2 separate regions of the Homo sapiens genome follow, and region 2 is linked to region 1. The links are contacts of gene promoters, found by promoter capture Hi-C in blood cells and fetal thymus (Javierre and others, 2016). All regions are on one chromosome and are shown on one strand. Each heading gives the region's core, a stretch centred on a gene start or on the middle of the fragment in contact. The rest is flanking DNA. Distances are from core to core; before and after follow the strand shown. Region 1 holds the start of RPL23A (ribosomal protein L23a). Region 2 overlaps FAM222B (family with sequence similarity 222 member B).

Region 1 (3,875 bases), core at 69-2,568:
ATGTCTGGTTTTATGAAGGGAGAGGGAAGAAGAAAGGATCAAGTGGGGATGGGTTAGGCACACACCTTAGGAGAAGCGAACCTGAGTGTTAAGAAACCTTTCTCTGTGTCTGGAGCTGAATTTGAGGATGTAAAGATGACCAGGACACGGAAGGGAAGACTAGTTTAGGGCAGGGGATTGTGAGTGAAGTTACTAACCGGAAAAACTAGCGAATCTTGGAGAAATGTGTGGAATTTTCATAGAACTTCAAATGCATTATCAGGAAACGCAGTAAAACTTGACAGTATCAGTGTCGCAGGTAAAGAGGGGCAGGTGTGGCCGCCTTGTACTTCCTCTGACACTTCCCCCTCGTGACTCGATTATTTATTTATTTATTTATTTATTTATTTTGAGACAGGGTCTCACTCTGCCACCCAGGCTGGAATGGCTCATTGCAGCCTCGACCTCCAGGGCTGAAGCGATCCTCCCACCTCAGCCTCCCAAGGAACTGGGACTACAGGCACGCACCACCACGCCCGGCTAATTTTTGTATTCTTTTGTAGAGACAGGGTTTCGCCGTGTTGCCCAGGGTGGTCTCGAACTCCTGGGCTCGAAGCAATTCGTCCACCTCGGCCTCACAAAGTGCTGGGATTACAGGCGTGAGTCACCGCGCCCGGCCCTGACTTGATTTTTTTCTGCCACCAAATCACTGTGTTATTGATAAACCACATTCCTCTCTGGACCTCAGTTCGACCGAGCAAATCCTGCTCCAGCACTCTAGAACTTAGCTGTATCTAACTCCCGAGTCAATCCAAATGTGTTCTTTCCTCTTGGCAGCGTTCCTGCCTCCTGGCATGGCAATCCTCTTCCCTGAGACTGGCAGTTGCTCAAGATAGGAAGCTCCCGGGACCAGACCCGAGCGCCAGCCGGCTACGCCGTCCGCTGGCCTGAGCAAATAAACGCGTGTCTTCAAAAAACTACAATCCCCATGGTGGCACGCGCCTGTAGTCCCAGCTACTCTGGTGGCTGAGGCAGGAGAATGGCGTAAACCCGGGAGGCGGAGCTTACAGTGAGCCGAGATCGCGCCACTGCACTCCAGCCTGGGCGACAGAGCGCTCAAAAAAAAAACAAAAAACAAAAAACAAAAAACTACAACCCCCATGAAGCTTTAGTGCCTTTGAGGGGAGGAGTGGCGCATGTTTGTTCACGCACGAAAAAGAAATTAAACCTAACTACCGTTCCCAGAGGGCGCCGCTCTGCAAATTACCCAATCAGCTCTAAGTACAAAGCATCGCGAGTCTTTAGTGCTCTTTGGCGCTATAAGCCCGTGGGAACGAGCATTGGAGACCCTTTTCACAAGATGGCGCCGAAAGCGAAGAAGGAAGGTGTGTGTTGGTGATGGGGCCGCAGCTGGTTTACCGGGGATTGCCGCGCCGCAGAGCGAACGAATTGGGAACACGGCTGCTGGGCTAAGCCCTGAGGGCTCTGCTCCGGGGCTGCTCCCTGCGTTTCGGACACGCTGCAGTATACGTGGGCCGCGTGGGCCCAGCCTCGTGGGCTGAGTTCCGGTAGAGGGAGTTGGGGGGGGGCAACGCGGCAGGCATCATCCGCCAGGGAGGGCCAGACATTCGGTTCTGGGAAGCTACATGCATCCACTGGTTGGAGCTCCATGTCCCCGGGCCTGTAAGGAATTAGTGCCCTCAGCTTTAACCATTTTCCTTCTGGTTCATGTTCAACCGGGCTACATTACCCGCCCCTCTCTCCGCAGCGTGGTTTTGCGATGGGGTATGTGTAAAATTCGTAGGACATTTTCTGGAAAGTATCAAGCGTTCATTCAGTGCTACTTTGTTTCATAGTCGTATCCCTGGAGTTACTTAGAGTTGGTCGCTTTCGCCTCTGGTATCGTGCATATGATGGAAAAGTTTTAATCTCCTGACACTTGTGATGTCTTCAAAGGAACCACTGATGCACCTGTGGCCAGGGTGGCCCACTGCAGTTCTTGGGGCCGGAAGTGACCGATTTCTAAATCCCGCACCCACGTTTTCTTTCCTTTTCTCCCAGCTCCTGCCCCTCCTAAAGCTGAAGCCAAAGCGAAGGCTTTAAAGGCCAAGAAGGCAGTGTTGAAAGGTGTCCACAGCCACAAAAAGAAGAAGATCCGCACGTCACCCACCTTCCGGCGGCCGAAGACACTGCGACTCCGGAGACAGCCCAAATATCCTCGGAAGAGCGCTCCCAGGAGAAACAAGTCAGTACTGCCCCCTGTACCCATGAAAAGATTTGGGTATTCTCCATTGGTAATTTGGAAATTCACTCACTCTGCGTGATGGTTTCTCAAACGCAAATTGTGTCCAGTGTGCTTCTCTAATTGGAAGTATGAGGAGATTGTTTCTGCTGCATTTACAAAACTGGCAGGATCAGCCCAGAGGCCGGGCGCGGTGGCTCACGTCTGTAATCCCAGCACTTTGGGAGGCCGAGGGGGGGCGGATCACTTGAGGTCAGGGGTTCGAGACCAGCCTGAGTGACATGGAGAAACCCCGCGTCTATTAAAAATAGAAAATTCGCCGGGCATGGTGGCGCATGTCTGTAATCCCAGCTACTCGCGGGAGGCTGAGGCAGGAGAATCGCTTGAACCCGGGAGGTGGAGGTTGCGGTGAGCGGAGATCGTACCATTGCATTCCAGCCTGGGCAATAAGAGTGAAACTCTGTCTCAAAAAAAAAAAAACCCTGAGTCTCTCAAAATTTGTTAGGTTAATTATTGCTTCACATGTGGTCACGGTTTGAAAACTTATTTTGGGGGGAGTATAAAGTAGAATACAGAGATTCCTTGCTCATAGCTCCTACTGCTATCGGGAACAATCCTTGAGGGTGAGAACGTGGATTGATTCTTGATTGATAGTGGGGATTCCATTATCTGTATTTGGCAGTTATGGCCTGCTGCGGTGTATAGAAGCTTCTTTCCATTCATTTTCCCGAATTTTCATACTGCTCAAGGAACAGTTGGGGGGGAATGGGCAGAAGGTTGGGCACTTGAGTATTTGAGCTATCGGTAATAACTGACTTTTTAGGGAGCACAGATTTGAGTAGAGCCATGGTAGTAGTTAGTACCAATGGGTTTTTGCTGCTTCTACTCTTTCTTAACAGAAAAAGTGGATTGTGTTCATATAGGAAAGCAGTTCACAGACTGTCTTCCTGCCCCTCCCGCCACCAAGCTGGACCTAGAATCAAGTGTGACTTTAAATGGGGAAAGCTGTGTTACAGTTGTGCTTAAGCCACTGCTGTGGCTTAACCTCACCTATGCATAAGAATTTGCTCGTGGCTGGCCGGGCGCGGTGGCTCGAGCCTGTAATCCCAGCACTTTGGGAGGCTGAGGCGGGCGGATCACGAGGTCAGGAGATTGAGACCATCGTGGCTAACACGGTGAAACCCCGTCTCTACTAAAAATACAAAAAAAATTAGCCGGGCGTGGTGGCAGGCGCCGCTAGTCCCACTACTGAGTCCCAGGCTGAAGCAGGAGAATGGTGTGAACCCAGGAGGCGGAGCTTGCAGCGAGCCGAGATCCTGTCACTGCACTCCAGCCTGGGCGAAGCGAGACTCTGTCTCAAAAAAAAAAAAAAAAAAGGAATTTGCCCCTGGCCCGATTCTCCTGCCTCAGCCTCTTGAGTAGCTCGGACTACAGGCGTGCACCACCATGACCAGCTAATTTTTGTATTTTTAGTTGAGAGGGAGTTTCACCATGTTGGCCAGGATGGTCACGATCTCTTGACCTCGTGATCAGCCTGCCTCAGCCTCCCAAAGTGCTGGGAATACAGCCATGAGCCAGCACACCTGGCCCAGAGATGATTCTTTAATCACTTGAGGTTGTAAGAGCCCTTCAAGAGAAAGAAAATGCACAACGT
Region 2 (3,875 bases), core at 682-3,181, 99 kb after region 1:
GGGCAACAGAGTGAGACTCTGTCTCAAAAAAAAAAAAATTAATAATCATAATAAGGCCAGGCACAGAGGCTCACGCCTGTAATCCCAACACTTTGGGAGGCCGAGGCTGGACTACCTGAGGTCAGGAGTTCGAGACCAGCCAGGCCAACATGGTGAAACCCTGTCTCTACTAAAAATACAAAAAATTAGCCGGCCATGGTGGTCGCCTATAATCCCAGCTACTCGGGAGGCTGAGGCAGGAGAATCGCTTGAACCCAGGAGGCAGAGGTTGCAGTGAGCTGAGATTGTGCCATTGCACTCCAGCTTGGGCAACAAGAGTGAAATTCCATCTCAAAATAATAATAATAATAGGCAAACTACAACAGAGAATGCAGAGTAGAGAATCAAACCCATGACTTTGGGAGACTATGGATATGGGACAGGACAGAAGGAGAATCATTCCTAGAAGAGAGAGGAAAAACATGTGCCTATATATAATAATTCACACTAGACAAACCAGCCTATCCAAATTGGCTTTTTCTCCTAATAACAACATTTCTGGCCTTAATCTAAATGGAAATAACCTATACCTAGATGGTATCTTTAAACTTCTATCTATGAAAGTAGAAGCATTATCTGGTAAAGAAGATTTGCTAAAATAACTAGTTGGTTAGGCTTCAAAATCTATTGCATGCAGTTTAAAAGGCATGAAGGTGGGGTGTAGGGGGTGGTTTATACTTCTAGCTACTTGGGAGGCTGAGGTGGGAGGATCATTTGAGCCCAGGAGTAAGAGTTCAAGGTTATAGTGAGCTATGATCGTGCCACAGCACTCCAAGCCTCAGTGACAGAGCAAGACCCTGCCTTTAAAAAAATAAAAATAGGCCAGGCGCGGTGGCTCACGCCTGTAATCCCAGCACTTTGGGAGGCCGAGGTGGGCGGATCACGAGGTCAGGAGATCGAGACCATCTGGGCTAACACGGTGAAACCCTGTCTCTGCTAAAAATACAAAAAATTAGCTGGGCGTGGTGGTGGGCACCTGCAGTCCCAGCTACTTGGGAGGCTGAGGCAGGAGAATGGCGTGAACCTGGGAGGCGGAGCTTGCAGTCAGCCGAGATCGCGCCACTGCACTCCAGCCTGTCTCCAGGGCGACAGAGCGAGAGTCCGTCTCAAAAAAAAAAAAGAATAAAAATAAAAAATAAAAATAAAAATAAAAATAACAAGACTCTATAGGAATGACTGATAAACCAGAATTAAAGCTCAAAGTCACGACAAGGGTGCCAAAGGGAAACACTTGTATGGTATATTTTTCCCTAATCTTCAAAATGACTGCTCCATCATTTATGGTTTAGGATGTTTGGGTTGTATGTTCTGGGAGTAGAGAGCTGGAAAGAAGGGGCAAGTTGTTAATTTTTCATACTGATGGGGTAGCACATGGTAGAAAAAGTAAAAAGCCAAAATCCTGAAAAAGTTTCACACACATAGACAAAATGAGACAGCAAACTTGTGAATCGAGCATGATTTGGCATCTTTAAATGCACAGCCAATTCCCTTCTAGTGCCAAAGCCAATGGCTTCTCCTGTAGATAAAATGGCACGGTTCCTGAAAAAGCCCTGGACGCTGTTTCCCCACAATCCTATAATCTGTCAGAAGACAGAAAACAAAAAGAAGGCTGTGCAAGCCAGAAAAAGCAAATTATAACCAACACAGAGCCAACACTTTACTTCAGACAGAAGGAGCTTTTCTATGCATCTTTGGAAAGGAAGAGACAAAAGAAGCTTACCATTGCTCAAATAATCAAGGCAAACAATAAAACAATTTAACCAAACACCATCTGGGATTAGCATTCAATGCAATAGCCTCCCTTCTCACTTCTTATTCATAGCCTTAAGGAATACTAACATCACATAAAAAAGAGTTGAATGCCACAATATACAAAGAACTCTTATAACTAAATAAGAGGAAGACAAATAACCAAAGGGGAAAATATTCAAAGAATATGAGATAGTAAATCACAGAAGAAATACATAAAGTCAAAAATTATATATATATTCCATTTTGTTAGGTAGTGGTGGAAAGTGCCTTCTCCATACAGTCCTAAAGGCATTTTGTCTTGATAGTACTGCCAACTGCAAGCTTCCAGAGAAACTTGGGCTATTTTGAATGAAAAAAATAATGATAAAGATGTCAAGCATAAGTAATACATTCCTAAAAATATTTAGAAGTTTTATGAAATACCTAATCTAGGAAGGAAACTATTCAATATAATGGATACATATAAGCTACAAATTAAATCCAAGAGAACTAAAATATGAATATAAAATGAACCTTTGCCTATGAATGTAAAACAGTTGAAGCCAATCCCTAAGCCTAGAATGAACAAAGCTGATGATGAAAGCAAATAACAGGGAGTCTTACTACAACCACAGAAATAAAACGTCTCTAAGAAAATAAAATTACTCAACTGTCTTTGCTGTGAAAGCATGTCATTCAAGGACCCTTTTAGCAGTCACCAAATGCAAATGCAAAAGCAGATAATGCCTGAGTCCAGCAAAAGCAAGTACAGTCTTCCCATCAAAGAGGAAAAGAAACCTAAGCCTTTCACTTGTCCTTGATACAAAAAGGTAAATGGATTGTGAAAGAACTCAAATTCCAGAAAAAAAGATTCCAGTCCAACCTGCATAAAGCTAAAAAAACTTCATGTTACTTTGTTCTAAAATTAGCAACACACAGGTCCCTATACTAAAAACAATATATACGATCCCAGGTGAGGTGTCAGGGTAAAGTTCCCAGCACGTCAGCAGACTATCCCATAACCATTTCAGTTTTCCCTTTTTGGCTTTTAGACAACATCCCAATTTTCCTCTATTGTTAATGTCACTTAAAAGGCTGAGAAAAATTTAGTTCAACAGATTCAAATTTCAATGTAGTTCCTAAGTACATTACAGGTAATGATGCCACTGATTCTATATTTAGACTCTGGTATGGAACAAGGAGTGTTAGTTTTGTCTAAAATGGTACCATGTCACTCTTCAAAGCCTAACTGCAACAATCACCTAATCCTGCATTAAAATGTCTTTAAGGTGTTACCTATAGCAAGTTAAAATGTTTTTTCAGTGTCTTTTGTGTGTGAGTGTTTCTATTGATTGGCTGTGATGCTATAAATATAGACACAATAAGTCACTCCCATCAGGCCTTTAAACATTCAGCAATGCAAGTACCATAAGGTGGAATTCATTCCTCATCTGAACCAAAAAGCAAAAATGGTAAAACTTTTTTTTTTTTTTTGAGGCGAAGTCTCGCTCTGTCACCCAGGCTGGAGTGCAGTGGCAAGATCTCGGATAACTGCAACCTCTGCCTCCTGGGTTCAAGCAATTCTCGTGCCTTGGCCTCCCGAGTAGCGGGAATTACAGGCGCCTGCCACCACGCCCAGCTAATTTTTTAAAATATTTTTAGTAGAGATGGGTTTTCACCATGTTGGCCAGGCTGGTTTCAAACTCCTGACGACCTTAAATGATCCACCTGCCTCAGCCTCCAAAGTGCTGGGATTACAGGAGTGAGCCACTGCACCCAGTCTGGTAAAACTCTTTTTATTTTATTTTTTTTTTTTTGAGATGGACTCTCGCTCTGTTGCCAGGCTGGAGTGCAACAGTGCAATCTCGGCTCACTGCAACCTCCCCCACCTGGGTTCAAGCGATTCTCCTGCCTCAGTCTCCCAAGTAGCTGGGACTACAGGCACGCGCCACCACACCCAGCTAATTTTTATATTTTTAGTACAAACGGGGTTTCACCATATTGGCCAGGATGGTCTCGATCTCTTGACCTCGTGATCCACCCACCTCGGCCTCCCAAAGTGCGGGATTACAGGTGTAAGCCACTGCGCCTGGCCAAAACTCTAA

The links. The method cuts DNA at HindIII sites, captures the fragments that hold promoters and counts their contacts. A CHiCAGO score of 5 or more calls a contact.
Region 2: a contact is called between a fragment that was not itself captured here and the fragment with the promoter of RPL23A in region 1, in 3 of 17 cell types (naive B cells, megakaryocytes and naive CD4 T cells). The highest score is 5.8, in naive B cells.

The regions. Positions count from the first base shown.
Region 1 is chr17:28,718,667-28,722,541 of GRCh38, forward strand. RPL23A (ribosomal protein L23a) reads left to right here and starts at 1,319. Exons shown (of 5, transcript NM_000984.6): 1 at 1,319-1,364; 2 at 2,041-2,224. The coding sequence starts at 1,340. It overlaps SNORD42B (small nucleolar RNA, C/D box 42B), which reads left to right and starts at 1,884; the gene lies at 1,884-1,950. RefSeq lists enhancers at 1-575, 576-1,177, 834-883, 1,314-1,533, 1,874-2,033. The HindIII fragment of the contact is 1,784 bases long and covers 1,144-2,927 here.
Region 2 is chr17:28,817,388-28,821,262 of GRCh38, forward strand. The region is part of intron 1 of FAM222B (family with sequence similarity 222 member B); the gene reads right to left. Among named protein-coding and RNA genes, the nearest start is that of FAM222B, 23 kb to the right of the region's middle. The HindIII fragment of the contact is 358 bases long and covers 1,753-2,110 here.